Regions from separate parts of the Homo sapiens genome. Here all the other regions are linked to region 4. Evidence: promoter capture Hi-C in 16 types of primary human blood cells and fetal thymus (Javierre and others, 2016). All regions are on one chromosome and are shown on one strand. The core of a region is centred on a gene start or on the middle of the fragment in contact, and the rest is flanking DNA. Distances in the headings are between cores, read along the strand shown. Region 1 overlaps C19orf38 (chromosome 19 open reading frame 38). Region 2 holds the start of ZGLP1 (zinc finger GATA like protein 1). Region 3 holds the start of ICAM4 (intercellular adhesion molecule 4 (Landsteiner-Wiener blood group)). Region 4 holds the start of KRI1 (KRI1 homolog).

Evidence for each region. Contacts are between HindIII fragments. The CHiCAGO score rates a contact against its expected background, and 5 or more counts as called.
Region 1: a contact is called between a fragment that was not itself captured here and the fragment with the promoter of KRI1 in region 4, in 6 of 17 cell types (neutrophils, M2 macrophages, M0 macrophages and 3 more). The highest score is 11.3, in neutrophils.
Region 2: a contact is called between the fragment with the promoter of ZGLP1 here and the fragment with the promoter of KRI1 in region 4, in 1 of 17 cell types (erythroblasts). The highest score is 5.9, in erythroblasts.
Region 3: a contact is called between the fragment with the promoter of ICAM4 here and the fragment with the promoter of KRI1 in region 4, in 10 of 17 cell types (naive B cells, megakaryocytes, total B cells and 7 more). The highest score is 9.2, in naive B cells.

What each region holds. Positions count from the first base shown.
Region 1 is chr19:10,848,526-10,855,826 of GRCh38, reverse strand. It overlaps C19orf38 (chromosome 19 open reading frame 38), which reads right to left. Exons shown (of 7, transcript NM_001136482.3): 1 at 7,288-7,301; 2 at 5,260-5,568. Among named protein-coding and RNA genes, the nearest start is that of C19orf38, 3.8 kb to the right of the region's middle. The HindIII fragment of the contact is 2,363 bases long and covers 815-3,177 here.
Region 2 is chr19:10,305,522-10,312,099 of GRCh38, reverse strand. It overlaps ZGLP1 (zinc finger GATA like protein 1), which reads left to right and starts at 2,285. Exons shown (of 5, transcript NM_001409033.1): 1 at 2,285-2,751; 2 at 3,550-3,915; 3 at 6,148-6,254. The coding sequence starts at 2,615. It overlaps FDX2 (ferredoxin 2), which reads left to right. Exons shown (of 5, transcript NM_001397406.1): 4 at 1,160-1,247; 5 at 1,458-2,055. The coding sequence ends at 1,614. It overlaps FDX2-ZGLP1 (FDX2-ZGLP1 readthrough), which reads left to right. Exons shown (of 9, transcript NR_176052.1): 4 at 1,160-1,247; 5 at 1,458-2,751; 6 at 3,550-3,915; 7 at 6,148-6,254. RefSeq lists an enhancer at 6,039-6,578. The HindIII fragment of the contact is 20,285 bases long and covers 1-2,658 here.
Region 3 is chr19:10,281,497-10,288,438 of GRCh38, reverse strand. ICAM4 (intercellular adhesion molecule 4 (Landsteiner-Wiener blood group)) reads right to left here and starts at 1,484. Exons shown (of 3, transcript NM_001544.5): 1 at 1,033-1,484; 2 at 601-903; 3 at 1-453. The coding sequence starts at 1,426. The coding sequence ends at 335. ICAM1 (intercellular adhesion molecule 1) reads right to left here. Exons shown (of 7, transcript NM_000201.3): 3 at 4,653-4,958; 4 at 4,119-4,406; 5 at 3,782-4,036; 6 at 3,411-3,656; 7 at 1,824-3,324. The coding sequence ends at 3,152. It overlaps ICAM4-AS1 (ICAM4 antisense RNA 1), which reads left to right. Exons shown (of 1, transcript NR_186335.1): 1 at 1-2,638. It overlaps LIMASI (lncRNA inflammatory and mucous response associated, antisense to ICAM1), which reads left to right and starts at 4,989. Exons shown (of 4, transcript XR_007067138.1): 1 at 4,989-5,118. RefSeq lists enhancers at 1,357-1,496, 843-1,812, 1,867-1,916. The HindIII fragment of the contact is 2,558 bases long and covers 1-1,839 here.
Region 4 is chr19:10,564,455-10,571,519 of GRCh38, reverse strand. KRI1 (KRI1 homolog) reads left to right here and starts at 5,510. Exons shown (of 19, transcript NM_023008.5): 1 at 5,510-5,614; 2 at 5,730-5,803; 3 at 6,486-6,591. The coding sequence starts at 5,521. It overlaps CDKN2D (cyclin dependent kinase inhibitor 2D), which reads left to right and starts at 2,541. Exons shown (of 2, transcript NM_001800.4): 1 at 2,541-3,007; 2 at 4,103-5,060. The coding sequence starts at 2,867. The coding sequence ends at 4,462. RefSeq lists silencers at 2,275-2,924, 5,240-5,769 and enhancers at 3,205-3,374, 3,814-4,321, 5,270-5,837, 6,040-6,089, 5,838-6,405. The HindIII fragment of the contact is 9,818 bases long and covers 4,937-7,065 here.

The sequences.
Region 1 (7,301 bases), core at 747-3,246, 290 kb before region 4:
GCCAGGCGCAGTGGCTCACGCCTGTAATCCCCACACTTTGGGAGGCCAAGGCAGGTGGATCACTAGGTCAGTAGATCGAGACCATCCTGGCTAACACTGTGAAACCCCGTCTCTACTAAAAATACAAAAAATTAGCCAGGCGTGCTGGCACGTGCCTGTAGTCCCACTTACTCAGGAGGCTGAGGCAGGAGAATCACTTGAACCCGGGAGGCGGAGGTTGCAGTGAGCTGAGATGGCGCCACTGAACTCCAGCCTGGGTGACAGAGCAAGACTCTGTCTCAAAAAGAAACAAACAAAACAAAAAACAACAAAACCCCACAAATAATTAGCCAGGTGTGGTGCACACCTGTAATTCCAGCTACTTCAGAGGCTGAGGCACAAGAATAGTTTGAACCCGGGAAGTGGAGGGTGCACTGAGCTGAGATCGTGCTACTGCACTCCAGCCTGGGTGACACAGAGAGACCCCATCTGAAGAAACAAACAAAAAAAGAGATGGCTGGGCACGGTGGCTCACGCCTGTAATCCCAGCCCTTTGGGAGACTGAGGTGGGTGGATCACCTGAGGTCAGGAGTTCGAGATCAACCTGGCCAACATAGTGAAACCTCGTCTCTACTAAAAATACAAAAATTAGCCAGGTGTTACGTGCCTGTAATCCCAGCTACTTGGGACGCTGAGGCAGGAGAATCGATTGAACCCAAAAGGTGGAGGTTGCAGTGAGCCGAGATTGGGCCATTGCCTTCCAGTCTGGGTGACACAGCTAGAATCTGTCTCAAAAAAAAAAAAAAAAAAAAAAAAAGAATATATATCTGAAGCTTCAGGGCACAATCTTGCCTCCATGAGGGGGAGAAACTACCTGAGAATAAGACAGAAGAGGAGCTGAGAAGGCAAATGCTTTCTGTCATTTTTCAGCACCTGGATCCAGCCATATCTGAAGTCAGCCATGTAAACTGACTTCAGCTCAGTGAACCAACAAATCCCCTCTTGCTGGTAGAGCCAGTGTGAGTCAGGTTTTTATTACTTGCAGTCTGGGTGCCAGTGGCCAGATGACATCCACCCCCAGCCCAACGGTAGACCCTGAGATCCACCCAGAAGCTAGTCACACAGGCATGGGAGTGGCAGTTCCAGAGTCACCTTCTCAGCACAAGACTTCGCTTCCCCTTCCTGGAGAAAGAGGAGATGCCCTGACCCCAAGGGAGGTGAGGAGCTAAGCCAGAAGAGGGAAGAAGACAGACGCTTGGTATTCTCACAATGTCAGCCTTGTTCATTGATTCACCTGGGGCAGAAGGGGTGTTGTCAGCTCCCTACTCCAAGGCCACAAGGCCAAGGTGAGAGAAGGGGGCCTTTGATAGAGGAGCCTGAGGCCGGGAAGGACAGAGAACTGCCCTGTCATAGCTGCATGTTGGCCTCGGCTGGCAACAAGATTATTTTTTGCAGTGAAAAAGTTCTTTTTAAAAGTTTTTTTGGGCCAGGCGCGGTGGCTCATGGCTGTAATCCCAGCACTTTGGGAGGCCGATGTGGGCGGATCACTTGAGGTCAGGAGTTGAAGACCACCCTGGCCAACATGGTGAAACCCCATCTCTACTAAAAAATACAAAAATTAGCAGGGTGTGGTGGTTGGCGCCTGTAGTCCCAGCTACTCGGGAGGCTGAGGCACGAGAATCGCTTGAGCCTGGGAGGCAAAGGTTGCAGTGAGCCGAGATTGGGCCACTGCACTTCAGCCTGGGCGACAGAGTGAGACTCTGTCTCAAAAATTAAAAAAAAAAAAAAGTTTTTACAGACAGGGTCTCCCTCTGTCACCCAGGCTGGAATGCAGTGGTGCGATCATGGCTCACTATATCCTCTACCTCCCCGGCTTAAGTGATCCACCTGCCTCAGCCTACTGACACATGCCAGCAGTCCCTCCTAATTAAAAAAAAAAAAAAAAAAACATTAGCCGGACGGGGTAGCTCACGCCTGTAATCTCAGCACTTTGGGAGGCTGAGGTGGGCGGATCACAAGATCAGGAGATTGAGATCATCCTGGCTAACACTGTGAAACCCCTTCTTACTAAAAAAAAAAATACAAAAAATTAGCTGGGCATGGTGGCACATGCCTGTAGTCCCAGCTACTCGGGAGGCTCTGAGGCAGGAGAATCGCTTGAACCCGGGAGGCAGAGGTTGCAGTGAGCCGAGATCGTGCCACTGTACTCCAGCCTGGGCGACAGACCGAGACTGTCTCAAAAAAAAAAAAAAAATTGGGGGGAGCTGGGCATGGTGGCTCACGCCTGTAATTCCAGCACTTTGTGAGGCCGAGGCAGGCAGAACACCTGAGGTCAGGAGTTTGAGAGCAGCCTGGCCAGCATTGTGAAACCCCATCTCTACTAAAACTCAAAAAGTAGCTGGGCATGGTGGTGCACGCCTGTAATCCCAGCTACTCGGGAGGCTGAGGCAGGAGAATTGCTTGAACCTCGGAGGTAGAGGTTGCAGTGAGACTCGAGAGGCTGAGGCAGGAGAATTGCTTGAACCTCGGAGGTAGAGATTGCAGTGAGCTGGGGTCACACCACTGCACTCCAGCCTGGGCGACAGAGTGAGTCCCTGTCTTTACAAAAAATAGACATATTAGCCAGGCGTGGTGGTGCACGGCTGTAGTCCCAGCTGCTAGGGAGACTGAGAAGGGAAGATTGATTGAGCCCAGGAAGTGGAGGCTGCAGTGAGCTGTGATTGCGCCACTGCACTCTAGCCTGGTCAACAAAGCAAGACCCCTATCTAAAAAAAAAATAAAATAATTTTTTTTTTTTTTTGTAGAGACAGGGTCTCACTATGTTGCCCAGGCTGATCTTGAACTCCTTGGCTCAAGGAATCGTCCTGCCTCAGCCTCCCAAAGTCCTGGGCTTATAGGCGTGGGTCATTGCACCCGGCCAGGAAAGTTCTGACTGATGGTAACACAGAAGGCCACCAAAGGCTCCTCCCTCCTGCTTCTTGACCCATAACCCATGTCCAGCCTCCTCATTCAGAGATCAGAAAAGGACATCAGCCCTGCCAGGGTTCCCTCACTCAGGTGAAAAGATCGAATCCTTGCTGTGGTCTACAAGACCCCCCACGATCCTCCTGGTGAACTCCCTGCCCCGCCTCTCCCCATTTTCCTCCTTGTTCACCATCCTTCAGCCATACTGGGCTCCTCAGACACACCAGGGAAGCTTCAGCCTCGGGGCCTTTGCACATCCTGTATCCTCTGCCTGCAACACATGCCCTGGATATCCACATGATTGGCTCCTCCTCATCATTCAGTTTTTTGCTCAAATGCCACCTCCTCAGAGAGGGCTTCCCTGATTGCCCTACTCTACTTCAGAGTCCAGAGGGCTGACCATTAGAACATGGGGCCAGTCGCCCTACTCTACTTCAAATAATGACATCCTCACCCAGGTGGATTTCATCTGGTGCCCTGCTGGCAGGTTGAATATATATTGGATTTCATGTTTATCATCTGTCCTCATCCGCCTGGAATGTCAGCCTGGAATGTCTTTGGGCAAGCCCAAAGACAGTTCTTGGTCCATAGTAAGTGCTCAGAAACCTTATGTGGCTCATGCTGGGCATGGTGACTCACATCTGTAATCCCAGCTACTCTGGAGGCCGAGGTGGGAGGATCACTTGAGGTTAAGAGTTCAAGACTAGCCTGGTCAATATCTTTTTTTTTTTTGAGACAGAATCTTGCTCTGTCACCCATGCTGGAGTGCAATGGCACTGTCTTGGCTCACTGTAACCTCCGCCTCCCAGATTCAAATGATCCTCCTGCCTCAGCCTCCTGAGTAGCTGGGATTACACACGCATGCCACCACACCCAGCTATTTTTTGTATTTTTTTTTTTTTTTTTTTTGAGACGGAGTCTCGCTCTGTCGCCCAGGCCGGACTGCGGACTGCAGTGGCGCAATCTCGGCTCACTGCAAGCTCTGCTTCCCGGGTTCACGCCATTCTCCTGCCTCAGCCTCCCGAGTAGCTGGGACTACAGGTGCCCGCCACCGCGCCCGGCTAATTTTTTGTATTTTTAGTAGAGACGGGGTTTCACCTTGTTAGCCAGGATGGTCTCAATCTCCTGACCTCATGATCCACCCGCCTCGGCCTCCCAAAGTGCTGGGATTACAGGCGTGAGCCACCACGCCCAGCCTATTTTTTGTATTTTTAATAGACATAGGGTTTCACCATGTTGGCCAGGCTGGTCTTAAGCTCTGACCTCAGGTGATCCACCTACCTCAGCTTCCCAAAGTACTGGGATTACAAGCATGAGCTACCATGTCCGGCCCTGGTCAACATTTTAGACCCTCATCTCTAAAATAATTTTTTAAATTAGCTGGGCATGGTGGTGCACACCTGTAGTCTCAGCTACTTAGGAGGCTGAGGTGGGAGGATCACTTGAGGATAGGAATTGGAGGATGAAGTGAGCTATGATTGTGCCATTGCCCTCTAGTCTGCACGACCTTGTCTCATTTAAAAAAAAAAAAAAGCCAGGTGCAGTGGCTCATGCCTGTAATTCCAGCACTTTGGGAGGCTGAGGTAGGCGGATCATGAGGTCAGGGGTTCGAGACTGGCCTGGCCAACATGGTGAAATCCTGTCTTTACTAAAAATACAAAAATTAGCCGGGCATGGTGGCACACACCTGTAATCCCAGATACTCAGGAGGCTGAGGCAGAAGAATCGCTTGAACCAGGAGGCAGAGGCTGCAGTGAGCCAAGATCGTGCCACTGCACTCCAGCCTGGGCAACAAGAGCATAACTATCTCAAAGCAAACAAACAAAAAAAGTATGTGGCCAAGAGGGGAAGTAATGTATGTCACGGAGGTGTAATTCATGGTTTTTGGAAGGCAATGGCATCCCAGACTGGCTACCTGTTACCTGTGTACAAGGTGTGTACCTCCTGTGCCTCAGTTTCCTTATCTGCAAAATGGGAAGAATCACAGCACCAATTTTGGCACCAAGAGGGAGACGGGCTGCCTGACAATAAGACGGAGAAGAATGTGGAGCAGAGATGGGGCAAATGGTCCCTGACAGCTTTCAGCACCTGGATCTAGCCATACCTGAAGTCGGCCCTGTGAGCTGACTTAAGCTCAGTGAACCAACAAATCCCCTTTTGGGCTGGCTGAGAAGATTGAAAAAGGAAAGGCGAGTAAGTCCTGGCAGGGTGTAAGCCTGGCTTTTTCTGGGAAGGCCTCTGAGTCAACAGTACACACAAGAGGTCCATGTGAGAAAATTAAGCCCCCGGCAGTGAGATCCCATAGAAGGGCCTTACCTGGGAAGGAGACGTTCACGGGCTCGCTGAGGTCTGACAGCTGGGACTGGTTGAGCTCACCTAACACTCCATACTGGCAGTGGAAGGGTCCCCCTGGAGCCTTGCTGCTGCCGCCGCTCAGGTTAAATGTCACCCCGCGCTGGTCCGTGGGGGCCTGCAGGAGCTGGACCACCTGCCCCCCTCGATACAGTGTGAAATTCGCCCCCGGGAAGTTCCCAGGGGCCATGCATGCGATGTGGATGGGGTCCTCTTGGCTGCTTGGGTACGGGGGCACCAGCCGGATGGATGGTGCTGGGATCGCCAAGGAGCCTGCAATGCAGAGGGTAAGGTGGGTGGGTGCGTGGTGAGAGTGGAGGCTGCCCTGGCTATGTGGCCTCGGGCAAGTAGACCACCCTCCCTCAGCCTTGTGTTTTCTGTGAGTCAGGAGGCTAGTGACCCTACCCCACACTGCCTGGCACATGGTGACGGCTCCCTGTAGTTGAATTACTTTTCTTTTTTCTTTTTTTTGTGAGTCGGAGTCTCACTCTGCCACCCAGGATGGAATGTAGTGGTGTGATCTCGGCTCACTACAGCCTCCACCTCCCGGGTTCAAGTGATTCTCCAGCCTCCCAAGTAGCTAGGATTACAGGCATGTGGCACTATGCCTGGCCAATTTTTATATTTTTAGTAGAGATGGGGTTTCACTATATTGGCCAGACTGGTCTCGAACTCCTGGCCTCGTGTGACTCCCCCCACCTCGGCCTCCCAAAGTGCTGGGATTATAGGCGTGAGCTACCATGCCTGGCCATCAGTTTTCAATAATAGCATTGGTTATTACATAGCAACACAACTATACTCTTATTTTTTATTTAATTTATTATTACTTTATTTATTTATTTAGAGACAAAATCTTGCTTTGTCGCCCAGGCTGGAGTACAGTGGCCTCAGCCTCCTGAGTACCTGGGACTATGTGCCACCATGCCTGGCTAATTTTTATATTTTTAGTAGAGACGGGGTTTCACCATGTTGGCCAGGCTGGTGAACCTGGCTAGCTAATTTTGCTTATTTTGTGTAGAGATGGGATCTCACTATGTTGCCCAGATCCTCACCTCAAGTGATCCTCCCACCTTGGCCTCCCACGAGCTGAGTCCTGAGTGGTGAGGAAGGACCCATTTGGAGAGCTGGGGAAGGGCATTCCAACAGAGGGAACAGCATAGGCAAAGGTCCAGGGGATGGAAGGGGAATGGGGGTGTTTAAGGAGGAGCAAACACCTGATGCAGTGGCTCACGCCTGTAATCCCAGCACTTTGGGAGGCCAAGGTGGGAGGACTGCTTGAGCCCAGGAATTTGAGACTAGCCTGGAGAACACAGTGAGACCCTGTCTCTATTTAAAAATAAAAATAAATATTAAAAAAGGAGCAGCAAGGAGGCCATCATGGCAGGAGGGAGGGGGTGAGTGAGGTGGGTGGCAGGAAGGGGAGGGGGTGAGTGAGAGGGAGGGCAGGAGAAGGAAGGGCAGAGGACTTTTATCTCCTTTCCCAGGCTTGGGTGAAGAATACGGATTTTGGAGCACGGCTTCCTGCAGGATGGTCTCCTGGGGATCCATCTCTCTCCTGATTGCCCACAGGCTTCTGAGCAGAGTGTCTGGCCAGGTGAGGTCTATACAAACCCTCCCTCGTCCAGCCTCCAACCCCCACCCACCCCTGCCACACTGATATCCCCCTAGGTAGACCCTCCTGCTGCCCCAGCACTCAAGGAGCCTTCAGAGACGAAGCGGGGCTGAATCATGGGGTGTGGGCACAGCTGACTCCAGAGGGGTGATATTTCTGATATTCATAAACTTGGGGGTGATGAGGAGCCTAAGAAGAAAAAACCAACACTACTGGAGAGTTTCCAAGGCTCAGGGGGAAAACCCATCTGCCAAGGGCTCAGCCTCCTCGATGCCCTGAGAACGGCAGCCCCTGCACTGGTTTCTGCCCCTGGAGCGGCAAGGTGGACAGAGGATGGGGGGAAAGGCGTGGGGGATCTGAGAGGGGGGCTTCAGACTCACCAGCTGCAAAGAGC
Region 2 (6,578 bases), core at 1,036-3,535, 260 kb after region 4:
TCAGGAGTTCAAGACCAGCCTGGCCAGCATGGCAAAACCCCATCTCTACTAAAAATACAAAATTAGCTGGGCGTGATGGTGGGCACCTGTAATCCCAGCTACTTGGGAGGCTGAGGCAGGAGAATCACTTGAACCTGGGAGGCAGAGGTTGCATTGAGCCGAGATCATACCATTGCACTCCAGCCTGGGCAAAGAGAGCGAAACTCCACCTCAAAAAAAAAAAAAAAAAAAAATTAGCCAGGTGTGGTGGTGCGCACATGTAGTCCCAGCTACTCGGGAGGCTGGGGTGGGAGGATCGCTTGAGCCGGGAGGTTGAGGCAGTAAGCTATGACTGAGCCATGGCACTCCAGGCTGGGCAACAGAGTGAGACCCTGTCTCAAAAAAAAAAAAAAAAAATCCTGGCCGGGTGCAGTGGCTTACGCCTGTAATCCCAGCACTTTGGGAAGCTGAGGCGGGCAGATCATGAGGTCAGGAGATCAAGACCATCCTGGCTAACATGGTGAAACCCCAGCTCTACTAAAAAAATATAAAAAAATTAGCCAGGCGTGGTGGCAGGCACCTGTAGTCCCAGCTACTTGGGAGGCTGAGGCAGGAGAATGGCGTGAACCCGGGAGGCAGAGCTTGCAGTGAGCCGAGATCGTGCCACTGCACTCCAGCCTGGGCAACAGAACAAGACTCCATCTCAAAAAAAAAAAAAACAAAATCCTAATGCCTGATTCCTTCCCCCACCACACTGACTGCTGAGTCAGCCGGTCCATCCTCCAAGAGCAGTGGAGAGGTGGGGACACATTAGCCCAGCACAGTGATAGGGTCACAGCAAGGGCTCACAGACTGCGGGGAGCCTGCCTGGCCTTTCCCCTCTCAGCTACCTGGCAGCCAAGTCCCTGCTCCTTAATGGTTCTGCATCTCAGCCTGCTAGGGAGTCCCTGGGAAATGGGGCCTCCCAGATGTCCGTTTGTAAACCCTACACACTGGGGAACAGCTAGCTGAGGACATTGAGGACATGACACAGTGCCTGGTACACACAGTGGAGCTGCAGGCCCAGGAGGGAGACGTGAGGCACGTGGTGGAAGAGAGGTCTACTCCTCTACGCCATTCGCATAGCAGCCCCTTCCTGACTCTGCCACTCACCTGCGCCCCCTTCACTTCCCACCCCTAGGGGCCTGTGAAGCCTCCCTGGCCTGCTCCACCTGCCATGTGTATGTGAGTGAAGACCACCTGGATCTCCTGCCTCCTCCCGAGGAGAGGTGAGTGGGTCAGCCCTGTCTAGCTGGCAGCTTCACCCTGGAGCATTCAGCAGCCCCCACCATCCTCCCCACTTCCAGTTCCTGGAATGGGAGCTGCCTCCCCCACCACTACCCCCTGCGCTCAGTCAGCTTCCTCCCTCCCCCACCTCTGGCCCCCCACCCACCCAGCTAGCTTGCCCTCGGCTAACACTGCCCGTGTCACCACCCTAGGGAAGACGACATGCTAGACATGGCCCCCCTCCTCCAGGAGAACTCGCGGCTGGGCTGCCAGATTGTGCTGACACCGGAGCTGGAAGGAGCGGAATTCACCCTGCCCAAGATCACCAGGAACTTCTACGTGGATGGCCATGTCCCCAAGCCCCACTGACATGAACACCTGGACCATTCCACATTGCCATGGCCCCAGGGCCCAGATTGAGGGAATAGCCAGGTGCCAGCCCTGCCCAGAGTGCGGACAGGCCCGGGAGAGACGTGGAAGCCCCTGTGAAGGACAACACCCCTGCTTGGGAGAGAGTCCCATGTCCAGGCTCTGGTGGGGACAGGGCCCCTAGTGGGGTGGCCTTCCCCAGGCCCCTGAGAATCAGGGTTTGAGTAGGAGTGGACTCATATTGGAGCTGCAATAAATCGATAACACAGGCCCCAGCATGTTGAGTGTCCTTGGGGGACAGATCTGGGGTCTACAGGTGGCTCACACCTGTAATCCTAGCACTTTGGGAAGCCAAGATGGGAGGATCACTTGAGGCCAGGAGCTTAAGACCATCCTGGGCAACATGGCGAGACCTCGTCTCTATAAAAACAGTAAAAATTAGCGTGGAGTGGTGGTAAGTGCCTGTAGTCCCAGCTACTCGGGAGACTGAGGTGGGAGGATCACTTGAGCCCAGGGGATTTAGGCTGCAGTGGAGCGGTGATCAGGCCATTCCACTCCAGCCTGGGTGACAGAGTGAGGCCCTGTCTCAAAAAAAAAAAAAACAAAAACAAAAACAAACCACACCTGCATCTGCTGTGCTGGGCCCCCGGTTCTCTTTTCCCTCTGGGATCTAAGATGCCGCTGGGGATCCAAGGCAGAGGCCTGGGAGCCCCCATTTCCGAGGGGGAGGGCTAGCGTGGAAGGCCCCGCCCCGGCAGCTGCGGAGGGATTTGGTGGGGTCCAGGCCGCCCTTGCCACGCAGGGGTGCGCGGATGACCTGAAAAAAGCCAGAAAGAGGAAAGGTGCCGCCGAGGCTGGTCGCTCTCAGCTGGGGCTCATCGCATCCTCTACCAAGAGCGCTCCCACCACACAGGTCCCGCCCCTCCCAGGTGGGTTTCATCGGGTGGGCCCAGCGGGACAGGGCCGGGTGAAATTAGGGAGGGGGCTGGGCTGGGGCGCAATGGAGGCCGAGCCAATCCCGGACTCCTCAATGCCAGCAAAGCTTCTGGCGCCGCCCTGTCTGAACCTGGAGCGGCTGGGAGGATCCCCCTCCCAGGAGAAGCCGAGGACCCCAGGATGCTGCAGAATCAGTGAGAGGTGCGTAAGGCCAAACCCCATTCCCCGGACCCCGCTAGCACTTCACCACCTGGCTCAGTGATCAAGGGGTCATGACCTCTCTTTGCTGGGGTTATCGAGAAGTGGCAATTTTATAATAGTTACTGAAACTTACAAAGAGGTTCTGGTGCCCAGAGACACTTGGGGTCATCTAGGGATCAGAGGCCATGCAATTCCATGTCTCTGGGGCTGATGTAGGCACTCCCCAGGGATCATCCAGGGGTTATGGAGGGCAACTCAATAATAATGAAAATGATAAAAATCGTAATCATATTATGGCAAGCCAGCGGCGTGGTGGCGCGTGCCTGTAAGTCCCAGCTACTCGGGAGGCTGAGGCGGAAGGATCGGTCGAGCCCAGGAGTTCTAGGCTGCACTGAGTCCTGATCACGCCCCTGCACTCCAGGCGGGGGTACAGAGTGAGGCTCGGTCTCTAAAAGAAACACAAAGAAAAAAAGTAACCTTTTTCTCGATCCTGCAGCCAGAGGCTTGATATCCTGCCTCGGTCACCTAGGGCGGTCCCTGCCTGGGTGATCTACGGGTGCCGTAAGGGGTTGATTGATGTGGAGGGCTGGGCGTGCCTGGGAGGCCCACAGTGGGCGAGGTGAGTTGCAATTACTGCAACTCTTAAACCTTCCACCCAGAGTTAGAAATGACTGAACCTCAGGTGGGGTGTGTAGCCTGTCCAAGGGTACACAAAGAGCCGGCCCAAGTTGGAACCCCCTGGCCGGCTAAACCCAGGAGTCACCCAAGAAAACGTGACCCCACTGCCCTTCTCCCCAGGTCCCTCTGGCCTGCATGCCAGGAGTCGGTCACCGCCCTGTGCTTCCTCCAAGAGACAGTGGAGAGGCTGGGTCAGTCCCCTGCCCAGGACACCCCGGTCCTGGGGCCTTGCTGGGACCCGATGGCTCTGGGGACTCAGGGCCGCCTGCTGCTGGACAGGGATTCCAAGGACACACAGACCAGGATCAGCCAAAAGGGCCGCCGTCTGCAGCCCCCGGGGACTCCCTCGGCCCCACCCCAGAGAAGGCCCCGGAAACAGCTGAACCCCTGCCGGGGCACCGAGAGAGTGGACCCTGGGTTCGAGGGGGTGACTCTGAAGTTTCAGATAAAGCCGGACTCCAGCCTGCAGATCATCCCCACGTACAGGTAGGGGCCGGCTGGGGCCAGGCCGCCCTTTCTCCCAGTTACAACGCAAACACCAGTGTGGGAGGTAGGGGTGCTCTCTGGCGTCGGTGTGGACCCTCACCTGTGCTCTACGTTACACGTGGCCCAGTCTCTGGTTGACAACTTGAGCTGGTGCCAGATACAGTCCTGCCGCTCCTGACTCAGTGGCTCCCCACTCCCAATGTGAGACCTGGTCTCTTTAGGAATCAGGCCTGGCCTTGCTTAGGCTGCAGCTGCGGCTGCGGTGATTTTTCCCAATAATGCTAACAGCTACTATTTGTTGGTAGTGACAACAATAAGAGGTTAACAGGCAGTATTTTATGTGTATGGGCTCATTCAAAAGCCTGGGGAGGCCGGGCACAGTGGCTCACGCCTATAATCCCATCACTTTGGGAGGCCAAGGCGAGCAGATCACCTGAAGTCAGGAGTTTGAGATCAGCCTGGCCAACATAGTGAAACCCCATGTCTACTAAAAATACAAAAAATTAGCTGGGCGTTGTAGTGGGTGCCTGTAATCCCAGCTGCTCAGGAGGCTGAGGCAGGAGAATCGCTTGAACTCAGGAGGTGAAGTCTTCAGTAAGCAGAGATAGCGCCACCTCACTCCAGCCTGAGCCACAGAGTGGGACTCAGTCTCAAAAAAAAAAAAAAAACTAGCTGGGAATGGTAATGGGCACCTGTAATCCCAGCTACTTGGGAGGCTGAGGCAGGAGAATCGCTTGAACCCAGGAGGTGGAGGTTGCACTGAGCAGAGATGGCACCACTGCACTCCAGCCTGGGTGACAGAGCAAGACTCCATCCCCTTAAAAAAAAAAAAAAAAAAGCTTTGGGAAGCTGGGCCTGGTGGCTCACACCTGTAATCCCAGCACTTTGGGAGGCCAAGGTGGGAGGATTGCATGAGCCCAGGAGTTCAAGACCAGCCTGGGCAACATAGTATGACCCCCAGCTCTAATTTTTACCTATTTATTGTTATTATAAAAATTATAATTATGACTTTTTTAATCATGCCGCCAAAACAATATTTTTTTTTTTTTTTGAGATGGAGTTGCACTCTGTCGTTCAGGCTGGAGTGCAATGACACAATCTCGGCTCACTGCAACCTCTGCCTCCCGGATTCAAACGATTCTCCTGCCTCAGCCTCTGGAGTAGCTGGGATTACAGGTGCCTGCTACCACGCCTGGCTAATTTTTGTATTTTTAGTAGAGATGGGGTTTTGCCATGTTGGCCGGGATGGTCTCGATCTCTTGACCTCAGGTGATCCATCTGCCTTGCCCTCCCAAAGTGTTGGGATTACAGGAGTGAGCCGCCACCATGCCTGGCTGCTTTTTTTTGCTTTTGTTTGTTTGTTTGTTTTTGAGACAGGGTCTTGCTCTGTCACCCAGGGTGGAGTGCAGTGGCGCAATCATGGCTCACTGCAGCCTGGACCTCCCAGGCCCAAGCCATCCTCCCTCCTCAGCCTCCCAACTAGCTGGGAGTGCAGGCCTGTACCACCACTCCTGGCTATTTTTTTTGTTTGTAGAGACGGGGTCTCCCTATATTGCCCAGACTCCCATCTCTTTTTAAAAATCAATAAATCAAATTTTCAAAGAAAAAAAAACTGTTGTATTGGGAAGCCCATTTTACAGATGAGGAAACTGAGGCACAGAGTAGGAGATAATGTGTCCAGGCTCACACAGCAAGGACATGGAGAACTGGGATTGGAACCTGGCAGGCTGTCCCTGTGCTTACTATTTTTCAAATAATAATAATAATAATTAGGTCGGGCACGGTAGCTCATGCCTGTAATCCCTGCACTTTGGGAGGCCGAGGTGGGTGGATCACTTGAGGTCAGGAGTTCGAGACCAGCCTGGCCAACATGGTGAAACCCCGTCTGTACTAAAAATACAAAAATTAGCTGGGCGTGGTGTCGCGCGCCTGTAGTCCCAGCTGCTTGGGAGGCTGAGGCTCAAGAATTGCTTGAACCCGGGAGGTGGAGGTTGTAGTGAGCTGAGATGACACCACTACACTCCAGCCTGGGCAACAGAGCGAGACTCCATCTGCAAAAATAATAATAATAATAATAATAATATTACTAATGAGAGGCAAAGCCAGGCCATTCAGATATTAGTTGCCTCCTCGGGGGATGGCTGATACCTTGATACTAAATCTTCATTTCGGAGGGCTGTTGGGGACAAGCTACAGATCCCCCCCAGTGCTAATACCTTGTCTGCCCCACAGCCTGCCCTGCAGTAGCCGTTCTCAGGAATCCCCTGCAGATGCTGTTGGGGGCCCTGCAGCCCACCCAGGAGGCACCGAGGCCCACTCAGCAGGCAGCGAGGCCCTGGGTGAGTCCTGAAAACCCAAGAGCTATAAATATTTTGGGGGCCAATTTCCTGTCTTCCCTGCCTTTCTCCCTGCCCCCCCCTTCTCCATCTTGCTTCCCCATTTAGAGCCCTCAGGGAGGAGTCGCAGCACCCCCCTCCACTTGGGCTGAGTCACCCCCACCCCCAGCTTCCTCCTCTGCGGAATGCTGCCATCTGTCTCCCTTCCTGGCTTTGCTGTGGCTTAGAGCTGGCAACTCCCAGGGCTGATCCAGAGCTAGGTGGGGCCTTTACTGAGACCCCCACAAAATGCCCGACTCCGCACAGGCATCCCGAGCTCACATGCTT
Region 3 (6,942 bases), core at 235-2,734, 280 kb after region 4:
TCGTGCTCTGTCCCCCAGGCTGGAGTGCAGTGGCACGATCAAGGCTCACTGCAACCTCGACTTTCAGGGCTCAAAGGATCCTCCCAACTCAGCCTCCCGGGTAGCTGGGACCACAGGTGCGGGCCACCACACCAGGCTAATTTGTGTATTTTTTGCATAGACGGGGTCTCACTATGTTGTCCAGGCTGGTCTCGAACTCCTGGGCTCAAGCGATTCTCCTGCCTCGGCCTCCCAAAGTGCTGGGATTACAGGCGTCAGCCACCATGTATGGCCATTTCCCCAGATTGTTTCATATTCCTCTTTTTCTCGCTCAGCCGGCATAGAACATCCCCCTTTACGCCTGGGACTTCATAGCTAGGCACTTGCATAGGTACGCAGCGCCCACAGTGAGGAGGATCCCTACAAGGGCAGCGATGGAACCGGAGGCCAAAGCTGTGGGCGCGGGGCTCCAAGCTGGGAGCAGAAGGCGAGAATTAGGAACGGAACACAGGGAGGTCTGTCGACCCGCGTGGAGCTCACGCTTGGTCTGTGCGCCCTCTCGGGGTCATAACTCTCTCTGCCCCCTTCCTCCTAGTCCCCAGGGTTACAGGGGTGCCTCACCGAGCATCAGTGTAATGGGTGCCGAGCTGTTGCGGACCACCAGGCCGTCGAGATTGAGGCGCGCGTGGCAGATCACGGGCTGCCAGAAGTCGCGGGGTCCAGCAGCAAACTCGTAGGTCAAGGTCACGTTGGCCAGATCCAGGCCGGTGAAGCGCTCCAGGCTTTCGGAATAGATGACCCGGCTTCCATGCCTCAGGGTCACCACCAAGTAGCCCACCGGGAACACCTGCGTCACGTGGCAGCGCAAAGTGTATTTCCTGCCCTTTAAGACCGGAGGCTCCAAAATCACGCTGTGGGGCGGTTCTAAGGCAAGGGGGAGCCTCTGAGTGAGGTCCGCGGGCGCTCCCTATAGAGCGACTGTCAACTACCCTTCCCCCACCTCTTCCAGCCCCCTCCCCTCACCCCAGCCGGGACCGAGCCCCTGTCCCTCACTGTAGGCGGTGATCCTGGAGGTGGCCCAGCGTGTTTTTCCTGCGCAGGTCACGAGGCAGTGCGCGAGGGAGCTCCAGGCCCTCACGTCGAGCAGCTGGTAAGACACCCAACCCGGCCCTCTGAGCGTCTTGCCTTGCCGCAGCGGGGTGCGGAGGCTGGAATTCTGCGGCTGGGGACAGCTGTTGCTGCAATTGAGCTGCACTGACTTCCCCGGCTGCACAGCCACGAACTCCGGGCTCATGCGCACCCAGAAGGGCACTGAGGTCCCGGAGGGCGCGAGAGGGCTACCCTTGGGGCTTTGCGCCCGCTTAGTCCGGCGTCCCAGCGCGCTCCCAACTCCCGGGTAGGCGGCCGCCAAAAAAAACAGCAGCGACAGAGGGAACAGAGACCCCATGGCAAAAAGCCCGGACTAAGGGGCCCCGCGCCAGAGAGCCAGGGCCGGCTCTAGAGATAAGGAGGCCCGCAGCCCCGCCTCCTCGACTCCACCCTGGAGAGGAAGGGGAGGCCCCAACAGAGGGCCCGGGAGTACTGCAAAAAGGGATTCCGCTCCCCAGGTCAAGAATAAGATTCCAGGCCTCATTAGAAACCAAATGTTTTTTTCTGGAGAGGAGTCTTTAGTTTTCACTAGAGACCCAGAAGGTCATAGAAAGTCCGATTTGGACCAGAACCTCAGGGTATGGCCATCAACCCACAATGTTTTCTTGGGGGAGGAAGTGGGAGGATCAGGCTGTGGCTGCTTAGAAAGGACTCCAGCTGGATGTGACACCTCCCCTCAACTCACACAAGGCTGAGGCAGTTGAGAAAGCTTTATTAACTAACACAAAGGAAGTCTGGGCAATGTTGCGAGACCCCGTCTCTGGAAAAAAAAAAAAAATCAAATTTGCCAGGTGTGGTGTTGTGAGCCTATGGTCCCAGCTACTCAGGAGGCTGAGGTGGGAGGATCACTTGAGCCCAAAAGGTCAAGACTGCAGTGAACCATGATTGCACCACTGCACTCCAGCCTGGGTGACAGAGCGAGAGCTTGTCTACACATACACACACACACACACGCGGATGAGGCTTCCAAAGCTGGGAGGGAGTCCTCCAATACCTTGGCCCCCTTCCCCACTGCTTGCAGGACCCTGATCACTGCAGGAAACTGGAGCTGCATAGTGCAAGCTCCCAGTGAAATGCAAACAGGACAAGAGGACAAGGCATAGCTTGGGCATATTCCCTGGGCACTCATGTCCAGACATGACCGCTGAGTGTCATTGTGAACACTGGCAGAAATGTATGTGGGTGGGGAGGTGGCTAACAAAGGTGTCAGTTTTGGGGGGAAGGGAGGAATAAGGCCTCACTGGGTAATCTCTGAACCTGTAACCATTACCAGTCCATATAGTGCTTTTGTGCCGATAGAAAAATCACTCCTTCTGGGGAAAGGCAGGTTGGCCAATGAGAAGTCCCAGCCCCATTTGATCTTTTTGCCAGGCACTCTCCTGCAGTGTACAACCTGTACAACTGTACCTGGTGACCTTGAATGTGATTAGGACTGGGAGCTCCGTGAGGCCAGAGACCTATGTTCATTTAGCCTACATAAAAGACACTCAATAAATAGCTGGTAAAATAACAAATGAATAAATACATATCATCAAGGGTTGGGGTCAGTAGACAGCAGTGCCCAAGCTGGCATCCGTCAGGAAGTGTGGGCCTTTGTGTTTTGATGCTACACATGTCTATGGAGGGCCACTTCTTCTGTAAGTCTGTGGGGCCTCAGCATACCCAATAGGCAGCAAGTTTCAGTATTTCCCAGTTGTATGTCCTCATGGTGGGGCTATGTCTCCCCCACCACTTCCCCTCTCATCAGGCTAGACTTTAACATCCATCAATCATGTCTTGAGTCTTGCTCCTTCCTCTTGGCTTAGTCATGTGACTACAGATCAGATGCGTGGCCTAGTGTTTTAGGTGTGCAGGTACCATGGCCCCAAATGCTGTTGTATCTGACTGAGGACAATGCCCTGTCCTCCGGCGTCCCAGGGCCGGTAGGTGTAGCTGCATGGCATATGTCTTCCACTCTGTTCAGTGTGGCACCACTGCCACCAATATGGGAAGGCCGAGGAAGAGGCCCTGTCCCGGGATAGGTTCAGGGAGGCGTGGCTTGTGTGTTCGGTTTCATGGGGGTCCCTTTTTGGGCCTGTTGTAGTCTGTATTTCTTGATCTTCCGCTGGCGGTTATAGAGGTACGTGCTGAGGCCTGCAGTGCCCATTATGACTGCGGCTGCTACCACAGTGATGATGACAATCTCATACCGGGGGGCTGTGGGGAGGATACAACAGGCGGTGAGGATTGCATTAGGTCCATGGCCCCTGCCCCCACCCAGCTCTGCCCGCCGGCTCACTCACAGAGCACATTCACGGTCACCTTGCGGGTGACCTCCCCTTGAGTGCTCCTGGCCCGACAGAGGTAGGTGCCCTCAAGATCTCGAGTGACAGTCACTGATTCCCCGATGGGCAGTGGGAAAGTGCCATCCTTTAGACACTTGAGCTCGGGCAATGGGTTCCCCCAAGCCTGGCACATTGGAGTCTGCTGGGAATTTTCTGGCCACGTCCAGTTTCCCGGACAATCCCTCTCGTCCAGTCGGGGGCCATCTGGAAAAACACGATGAGATGACATGGAGGTGGGTGGGGGCAGGACTTGGAGGCAAGACCTTATGGGACCTTCAGGGAGATTGGGCCTTGGGGGATAGGGGCCATTGACCAGCAGCCCCACTCACACAGGACACGAAGCTCCCGGGTCTGGTTCTTGTGTATAAGCTGGCCGGCCACCTCCAGGGTTGCAGAGCAGGAGAAGCTGCGCCCGTTGTCCTCTGGGGTGGCCTTCAGCAGGAGCTGGGCCCTCGGGCCCAGTGGCTGGGCTGGAACCCCATTCAGCGTCACCTTGGCTCTAGGGTGGGCCTCACACTTCACTGTCACCTCGGTCCCTTCTGAGACCTCTGGCTTCGTCAGAATCACGTTGGGCGCCGGAAAGCCTGGAATAGGCACACAGTGAGCCCCGCCCCGGGTTCAGGTCACACCCCCAAGAAGCCCCACTCCGCCCCTGCCCCTTCTTACTGTAGATGGTCACTGTCTGCAGTGTCTCCTGGCTCTGGTTCCCCAGTATTACTGCACACGTCAGCCGCTGGGTGCCCTCGTCCTCTGCGGTCACACTGACTGAGGCCTTGGCCGAGAAGGAGTCGTTGCCATAGGTGACTGTGGGGTTCAACCTCTGGTCCCCCAGTGCCAGGTGGACCTGGGCCTCCGAGACTGGGAACAGCCCGTCCAGGGAACAGACCACGGTCCCCTGCGTGTCCACCTCTAGGACCCGGGGGCTGACAAGTTGTGGGGGAGTCGCTGGCAGGACTAGGGAGAGAAGAAAGGTGTGAGCAGACAGGGATGGACGTCCCGAAGCCCTTCTCTGGGGCATTTCATTCCCCCTCCTGCGAGATCCTCTTCCAGGGCCACTCAGCAGCCTAGGTCACATACGCCTAGAACACATGCACCCCTTAGCCGGGGCCACACCCATCTCAAAAGATCCTGTGGCCACAGGCACCGCATTGCAGGATACCCCACCCCCACCTTCTCCCTGCTGGCTTCTTCAATCCTCACCAAAGGTCTGGAGCTGGTAGGGGGCCGAGGTGTTCTCAAACAGCTCCAGCCCTTGGGGCCGCAGGTCCAGTTCAGTGCGGCACGAGAAATTGGCTCCATGGTGATCTCTCCTCACCAGCACCGTGGTCGTGACCTCAGCGGGCTCCCCCACAGCTGGCTCCCGTTTCAGCTCCTTCTCCCCACGGAGCAGCACCACGGTGAGGTTGGCCCGGGGTGCCCCACCCTCCACCTGGCAGCGTAGGGTAAGGTTCTTGCCCACTGGCTGCCAAGAGGGGAGGGGTGCCAGTTCCACCCGTTCTGGAGTCCCTGCAGGAAAACAGAGGTGGGGGTGTCTGGTGAAGTGGACCTTGCTGCCTGCCTAACAGACGAACTGCACCTGCCTGGGAGCCCTACCTCTTCAGTATCTCCCCCAAACACGCCCAGACACCTAAGCAGATAGGAATGTCAAGATCTTCAGTGAAAACTGGTAAGAGGGCCCCGAGTGTTTGTGAAGGGGATCAAAATATTCCTTATTCATGACAGCAGCATCTTAGAGTGAAAAGTGGAAAAGAACTTCAAAGTCTATTGCTAGGTGTCTGGTCAAATAAATTCAGCAGCCCAGTGCACTAGACTGGGCAAACAGTGGCTCGATCTTGGCTCACTGCAACCTCTGCCTCTGGGATTCAGGGGATTCTCCTGCCTCAGCCTCCTGAGTAGCTTAGATTACAGGCACACACCACCACACCAGGTTAATTTTTGTATTTTTATTTTTAATTAATTAATTAATTAAGTTTTTAGACTGAGTCTCCTTCTGTCGCCCAGGCTGGAGGGTGATGGCATGATCTTGGCTCACTGCAACCTCTGCCTCCTGGGTTCAAGCAATTCTCCTGCCTCAACCTCCTGAGTAGCTGGGATTACAGGCACGTGTCACCACACCCAGCTAATTTTTGTATTTTTAGTAGAAACGGGGTTTCAGCATGTTGCCCAGGCTGGTCTCGAATTCCTGACCTCAAGTGATCTGCCCACCCCGGCCTCCCAAAGTGCTGGGATTACAGGTGAAAGTAAATGAGCCTGGCCTAGACATTCTTTAAAAAACAAAACAAAACAAAAAAAAAAACCTGTTGGCCAGGTGTGATGGCTCAGGCTGTAATCCTAGCACTTTGTGAGGCCAAGGCAAGAGGGTCACTTGAGGCCAGGAGTTCAAGACAAGCCTGGGCAACATAGGGAGACCCCCATCTCTAAGAAAAATTAAAAAAAGGTTGGCAGGGCGCGGTGGCTCACGCCTTTAATCCCAGCACTTTGGGAGGCCAAGGAGGGTGGATCCACGAAGTCAGGAGTTCGAGATAAGCCTGACCAACAGAGTGAAACCCCGTCTCTATTAAAAATACAAAAATTAGTCTGGCATGGTGGTGCACGCCTGTAGTCTCAGCTACTCGGGAGGCTGAGGCAGGAGAATCTCTTGAACCTGGGAGGTGGAGGTTGCAGTGAGCTGAGATCGTGCCACTGCACTCCAGCCTAGGTGACAGAGCGAGACTCCATCTCAAAATAAATGAATGAATGAATGAATGAATGGTTAACTGGGTGTGGTGGTGCACACCTGTAGTCCCTGCTACTTGGGAGGCTGAGGCAGGAGGATCACTTGAGCCCAGGAGTTTAAGGCTATAGTGAACTGTGATCATGCCACTGTACTTTAGCCTGGGAAAGAAAGACCCTGTTTCTATTAAAAAAAAAAAAAAGTCAGTAATGACAGAGTCTAATAACAAAAAGGCTGCGTGTGGTGGCTCACGCCTGTAATCCCAACACTTTGGGGGGCCGAGGCAGGCGGATCACCTGAGGTCAGGAGTTCAAGACCAGCCTGGCCAATATAGTGAAACCCCGTCTCTACCTAAAAATACAAAAATTAGCCAGGCGTGGTGTTGTGTGCCTGTAGTCCCAGCTACTTGAGAGGCTGAGGTTTACTTGTGAGGAAAGGATTACTTCAGCCCAGGAGGCAGAGATTGCAGTGAACTGAGATCGCGCCACTGTACTCTAGACTGAGTGACAGAGTGAGAGTCTCTCTCAGAGGAAAAAAAAAAAAAAAAAAAAAGCATCAGGACCGGGGGGGTCCTGCATTTGATACCCAGCCTTGCTTCTTTGCTGTGGGTAAGTGACTTTGTCTCTCTGAACCTCAGTTTCCTGAACTGTAAAATAGGGCTATTAAAGGTAGGAGAATTCACTTAAGAGGTAGACAGAGTCGCTGTACATAAGCAGGAGGTTTCTTTTTTAGAGTGATTGAAATATTTTAAAATTAGATTGTAGTCATGGTTGTTTG
Region 4 (7,065 bases), core at 4,261-6,760:
CTAATTTTTTGTATTTTTAGTAGAGACGGTGTTTCACCGTATTAGCCAGGATGGTCTCAATCTCCTGACCTCGTGATCCGCCCGCCACGGCCTCCCAAAATGCTGGGATTACAGGCGTGAGCCACTGCGCCCGGCCTGTATTTTTTAATAGAGATGGGATTTCACCATGTTGGCTAGTCTGGTCTCGAACTCCCCACCTCAGGTGATCCACCCGCCTCAGCTTCCCAAAATGTTGGAATTACAGGTGTGAGCCACTTCGCTCGGCATTCCTATCTTATTAAAGCCATGGCCTGGTCGGGCGTGGGCGACAGAGCAAGACTCTGTCTCAAAAAAAAAAAAAAAAAAAAAAAAAGGCCGGGCACGGTGGCGGGCGCCTGTAGTCCCAGCTACTCGGGAGGCTGAGGCAGGAGAATGGCGTGAACCCGGGAGGCGGGGCTTGCAGTGAGCCGCGATAGCGCCACTGCACTCTGGCCTGGGCGAGTGAGACTCCGTCTCAAAAAAAAAATTAAAAAAAAATTAAAATAAATAAATAAATAAAAAAGCCATGGCTTGATTTGCACAATTGCCATCCTGATACCCCACCTACCTGCTCTCCCCTGCTCTGTACCACACCAGGCACGCTCTCACCTCTGGGCCTTAGCATCTGCTGTGCCTCCCAGCTGGTGTGCTTTTCCCCATATAACCACAAGTCTCCCTCCCTCACCTTTAGGTCTCAAATCAAATGTCACCTCTTCAGGGAGGCCCTCCCTGCCTTTGCGTTTCTTTTTCTTTTCTTTTCTTTTCTTTTTTTTTTTTTTTTGAGACAGAGTCTCACTCTGTTGCCCAGGCTGGAGTACAATGGCGCGATCTCGGCTCCTGCGACCTCCGCCTCCTGGGTTCAAGCGATTCTCCTGTCTCAGCCTCCTGAGTAGCTGGGATTACAGGTGCGTGCCACCAGGCGCAGCTAATTTTTTTTTTTTTTTTTTTTTTTTTGAGACGGAGTCTCGCTGTCGCCCAGGCTGGAGTGCAGTGGCGCAATCTCGGCTCACTGCAGGCTCCGCCCCCTGGGGTTCACGCCATTCTCCTGCCTCAGCCTCCCGAGTAGCTGGGACTACAGGCGCCCGCCACCTCGCCCGGCTAATTTTTTATATTTTTGGTAGAGACGGGGTTTCACCATGTTGGTCAGGCTGGTCTTGAACTCCTGACCTCGTGATCCGCCCACCTCAGCCTCCCAGAGTGCTGGGATTACAGGTGTGAGCCACCGCGCCCGGCTTTTTGCCTTTCCGTTTCAATGGCTCATCTGGTCAGTCCTCTACCACTCTAAAAAGATTTAACTATTGGCGGAGAGCAGGAGCTCACGCCTGTAATCCCAGCACTTTTGGAGGCCAAGGCAGAAGGATCCGTTGAGCCCAGGAATTCGGGACCAGCCTGGGCAACAAAGCAAGAACCCCAACATAAAAAAAAAAATCTGTATTTAAAAGCCAAACACAAATAACAAACAAAAAACACCAGCCTGGGCAACATAGTGAAACCTCATATCTACTAAAAACACAAATTAGCCGGGCGTGGTGGTGCGCCCTGTAGTCCCAGCTACTCGGGAGGCTGAGGCAGGAGGATCACTTGAGCCCGGGAAGTCGAGGCTGCAGTGAGCTGTGATCGCGCCACTGCACGCCGGCCCGGGTGACAGGAGTGAGACCCTGACTCAAAAATAAATACATATATAAATAAAAATTAACTATTGTCTCTGGCCCCAGACCATAGGTGTCCCTGCAGCAGGGGCCGACTGGCGTGCTCTCCACTCGGGCCCCTCTAGGAGGTGCTAAGTAAATATTTGAACGAAGACCTCTGAGTCCCTGTCTGGCTGCGACTATGTCCTCTCAGGCCTTCCCACGTGGCAGCTGCAGGCTCCTTTCCTGCTGGCTCAGTCTGAGCCCGGCAGGGTGATCCCTTCCTCATCCACTCCGTCTCTCCGTTTCCCTTTCTTCACGGTGCTTGACACTATCTAATATTATTTGGTTGTTTGAATGTGCGCGTCCAGCTCCCAGGACGCTCCCTGCACACAGTGAATGAATAAATGAATGAAATAAAGCGCCCAGCTCGTAGTAAGGGCCAATGAATGTCTATTAGTAGTGGAACCTCGGATTGGGTGGCTCCAGCCCTGCCTCCCTTCCCTCAGGAGGCGCCGAGGTCCCAGAGCAGCCCGCGCGACCCTGCCCCTGACCTTTCTCCCTGGGTCAGTTAAACCAGCCTTCTTTCCCGCCTGCCGGGTTCATTTGAAAACCGAAAACCCCGCCATTGCCGGCGGTCCACCGGTTGCCACACTCTGACCAATCAGGAGCGACGCGTTTCACGCCGAGCCCGAAGTTTCCCCGGCGACGCGCAGCCACTGGTTATGCAGGCCCTGTGGGCGGAACGCCGTAAGGTCGCGCGCCGGGCAACGCGGTGCCGCTACACAGTAGCGAGTTTGTAAGAAAACAAATCAGTTGCGTTCGGGGCGTGGCCGGGAGCACGTTGGCTCCGCCCCCTGGCGGCTGCCTCAGCGGCGGCGGCGGCGCAGGCTCAGAGCAGACCCCGCCCGGCGAGGAGGAGGGAGGGTGAGTTAGGGGGAGACCCGGCCCCCAAGGGGCGGGCGCCGGGCAGGGCCCCGCGGGCGGCCGAGGGTTGGGCCCGGCTCCCAGCCCCTCGCCGTCCTCCGGCTGACAGGGGGAGGAGCCCGCCGGGAGGGCCGGGGTCTCGGGCTGGGGAGCCGGGACGGGAGAGCAGCGCAGCCGGGTGCACCGCGGCCGCGCCCCGGGAGGGCTGTTCGGGCCAGCGCCCGCCGGCTGCTCCGCGCTGACAGCGCCGGGCTGGGGCGGGGCGGGGGGCTTTGCAGGCCGCCAGTGTCGACATGCTGCTGGAGGAGGTTCGCGCCGGCGACCGGCTGAGTGGGGCGGCGGCCCGGGGCGACGTGCAGGAGGTGCGCCGCCTTCTGCACCGGGAGCTGGTGCATCCCGACGCCCTCAACCGCTTCGGCAAGACGGCGCTGCAGGTGAGGCCGGGCCGGTCCAGGTTGGGGCGGGGCGGCTAAGCGGGATGAGGATCGAGACCCCAGAGCTCCTCTCTGGTCTCCTGGCCCTGGTGGTGACCCACTGGGAACCGGTCCTTCTTCTCTAGGCTTTCATTGTTCCCCCACAGTCCCCCTTCGAAGGTGGGTGGTGGGTGAGGCTAGGTTGTGGGGGGAGGGGAGAGCTTTTTAGCATCTTCTCTGGGAGGATTCCTGGTTCTCTGAGTGCCGGGGATTCACTTTCCCTGGGGAGGTTCTTATTCCGTGGGTGCGGGTTCAGCTCCTTTGGATGCCGTTTCCATGGGGACGGCTCACGTTTCTTGGGGCTTCTATGGGGAGATCCGATCTCTGGAAGGAGAGGTCCTGTCTCTAGGGGTTCCTCATTTTGTAGGGGGCTCTCTGAGACAAATCTGGTTACTTGGGGGTGGGGTCTTCATTCCTAAAGGTTATGCGGATCCTTGATATAGTATGGGGGCCCCAATGGAGGAACAATGTCAGATTGCAAGACATCCCTATATTCCCTGGGAGACATTTTACAGGGAAGTCTCGTTTCTCTTTTATTATTACTTTTGGAATCCCGCTTCTTGAAAGGAGCTCTCAGGTACTCTGAGGTGACATCACCATTATGTAGGAGGAGGCTATTTCCTGGAGAAGGGGTTCGCTTTCCTTTGACATCTTTTTTCCCTTATGAGGACTATCAATTCTTTGGGGGTAGTTCTCCATCTCTGGGGGCCCATTTCCTGGAGGGGATTTTCTGTTTCCTGGTGATTGCCCATATCTGGGGGCGTCTTTGGTCCCTTGGGGGAGAGTCTTAGGTTCCTTGAAAGTTTCCATGGGGGGCTGTTCTCTGGGTTGGGGGGTCTCATTCTTAAGGGAGTGACCAGCTTTTGGGGGGGGTCCCTATTCCCAGAAGAACTTTCCTGGGGGCTTATGCAGCTTCTCCGTTCACTAGAGGACCCCTCCTCTAGCATTTCCTGTTTCTGGGAGATGCCTCTTTCTGGATGACCCTTCTCTTTCCAGTGACCCCTTTTGTGGAACCTCCTCCCTTGAGGACCTCCTGATCCTCTGTCCCTCACACAGGTCATGATGTTTGGCAGCACCGCCATCGCCCTGGAGCTGCTGAAGCAAGGTGCCAGCCCCAATGTCCAGGACACCTCCGGTACCAGTCCAGTCCATGACGCAGCCCGCACTGGATTCCTGGACACCCTGAAGGTCCTAGTGGAGCACGGGGCTGATGTCAACGTGCCTGATGGCACCGGGGCACTTCCAATCCATCTGGCAGTTCAAGAGGGTCACACTGCTGTGGTCAGCTTTCTGGCAGCTGAATCTGATCTCCATCGCAGGGACGCCAGGGGTCTCACACCCTTGGAGCTGGCACTGCAGAGAGGGGCTCAGGACCTCGTGGACATCCTGCAGGGCCACATGGTGGCCCCGCTGTGATCTGGGGTCACCCTCTCCAGCAAGAGAACCCCGTGGGGTTATGTATCAGAAGAGAGGGGAAGAAACACTTTCTCTTCTTGTTTCTCCTGCCCACTGCTGCAGTAGGGGAGGAGCACAGTTTGTGGCTTATAGGTGTTGGTTTTGGGGGTGTGAGTGTTTGGGGGACGTTTCTCATTTGTTTTTCTCACTCCTTTTGGTGTGTTGGACAGAGAAGGGCTCCTGCAGGCCACAGCCACCTAAACGGTTCAGTTTCTTCTGCGCCTCAGGCTGCTGGGGCCTCAGACGAGACCCAAGGGCAGAGCATTTAAGAGTGAAGTCATGACCTCCAGGGAGCCTAGAAGCTGGTGGCCTTGGCCGGCTGTGCTCAGAGACCTGAAGTGTGCACGTTGCTTCAGGCATGGGGGGTGGGGGGAGCGTCCCAAATCAATAAGAAGGTAGAATGAGTTATGAGTTATTCATATTCTGTTGGAAGCTTGTTTTCCAGTCTCTTGTACAGCGTTTTAAAAGAAATGGATTCTATTTATTATGCTTTATTGGAAAAAATGTTGTAATAATTTAATGTTTTTACCCATTAAATTAAGACTTGTGCATGATCACAGCACGGGTGGCTTCTGATTTTTGAGTCTGGGATGGAGAGTTACACATCCCGGATGTTGATGGGGATGAGGACGGGGGTCGCGGATCGTGGATGTGGTGGGTGAGGGGAGAGAATAGTAATTCCCAGGGCGCCAGGGTGAGTGAGCTGGGTGGGGCAGCGGTTTTCGCTGTCGGAACGGAAGGGAAGCAGGAAACCGCGAGTGGAGAAAGGGCCCCCAGATGTCAGCTGGGTGCCCGGAGCACAGGGGGTGGGGCGGGTGGGCGGTGGCCGCGGCCTTCCCCGCAGGGGCGTAGCCGTGGGCGGTGACTGCGGTGATGAGGCGAAAGGGATCCCGGAAAAGCCAGGGGCGGGGTTAGCAGCGGTACGCCTCGTTTACAAGTGGATGCGGGCGGGACTGAGGGCGGCCCCGCCCCGTCCAGGGCTTCCTCAATGCGCGTGCGCAATGGGCCACAGAACCGCCATGCCGGAACCGCGCGGGTCGTCGCAGCTGCGGGTGAACGCGGCGTTTGCCGCGCGGTACAACCGCTACCGGGAGCGCGAGGAACTGCAGCGGCGTGAGTGCGGGGCGCATGCGCGCGGGAGCCTGCGCGCGCCGGCCGGTTGGGAAGTGGGGAGTCGAGTGGCCCCGCCGGCTGACCTGGGGGGGGGCATCCCGTCTGTGTCCCGCAGTGAAGGATCGCTACGGGGACCGAGACAGCAGCAGCGACTCCAGCTCCGAGTCGGACTCAAGCGACGAGCGCGTGGTGCGCGTCCCCGCCCCGTCCTGGACGTGCGGAGGCGTCCAAGCCCCCCTCTGCACCCCGACCCCGATGTAGACGGGGGGGAACCCCCAACCCCAGAGCGCCCTGCGGGAGCGTCCCATCCTCCGCTCCCCATCCCATGAGGGACAGACAGTGCCCCCCCTCTCCCCAGGGGAGCCAAATCCCCGTTATTTTCTCTCCCCTGCCACGATCCCCACCTGCCCACTCTGATGTGTGGGGCGACTCTGTCCCCCAAGAACCCCCCCTTTCCTCTTTCATCCTCAAGAGTCTAGCCATTTTTTAGTGTACTCCTTGCGCCACGTGGGGCGCCCAACTTCTCACATCAGCCCTGATCCTGGCCCCACTGTGCGGCCTGGCCCAGCCCCTCCCCGCTGTCTCTCTTGTGCCCTCAGCCCACCTGCCCCTTGTCAAGTCTTTGTCTTCCCCAGGAATTACCTTCTCCTTGCCCCTCACCTTCCTCTACCCATATCCTGTACCTACCTGTGGCCTGCCCCTGCCCACCCCAAGAGGGCCCCTCTCCCTCCTGCTGTTTGACCACCTGTTTGACCTCCCCAGCCAGATCCACCCCCCTCCATCCTAATCCCTACGCTGAGCTCACCTGCTGGCGCCAGGGCTCTTATTATCTCCCTTCTGAAATCTATCCCCAACCCTTTTCCTGCCCTAGGAATTTGATCCCCAGCAGGAGCGGGACTTTTACAAAACGCTCTCCTTGTTGAAGAAGAAGGACCCCCGCATTTATCAGAAAGATGCCACCTTCTATAACAGAACAGGTCCGGGGCCACTCCTGTCTAAACCTCTCCTTCCTCTGGAGCAGAATCCGGGGTCCTTTCCTGACTGTGGATTCAGAGAAGTGACTTGACTTCTCTGAGCCTCTTTTCCTGTCTGTAAAGTATATCTAACGGTAGCATCTCCCCTCAGGGCTGTTTTAAGGATAGATTGGGATTTACCCAGTTTACACAGTTCATCTGTTTTGACTATTGAATGAATTGCTTCACAAGTCACAAGTCCTTAGCAGAGCCTAGGTTATTACCTGGTGGTGGAGTTAATGACTGTGTCCTTGGCACTATTCAAGGTGGGAATTGCTGACTGAATGATTCCAACTCCACCAGGCTGGGCAGGTGGTTCAAGCATCTAATCCCAGCACTTTGGGAGGCTGAGGTGGGAGGGTCAATTGAGGCCAGGAGTTTGAGACCAGTTTGGCCAACATAGCAAGACCCCATTTCTCTTTTTTTTTTTTTGAAATG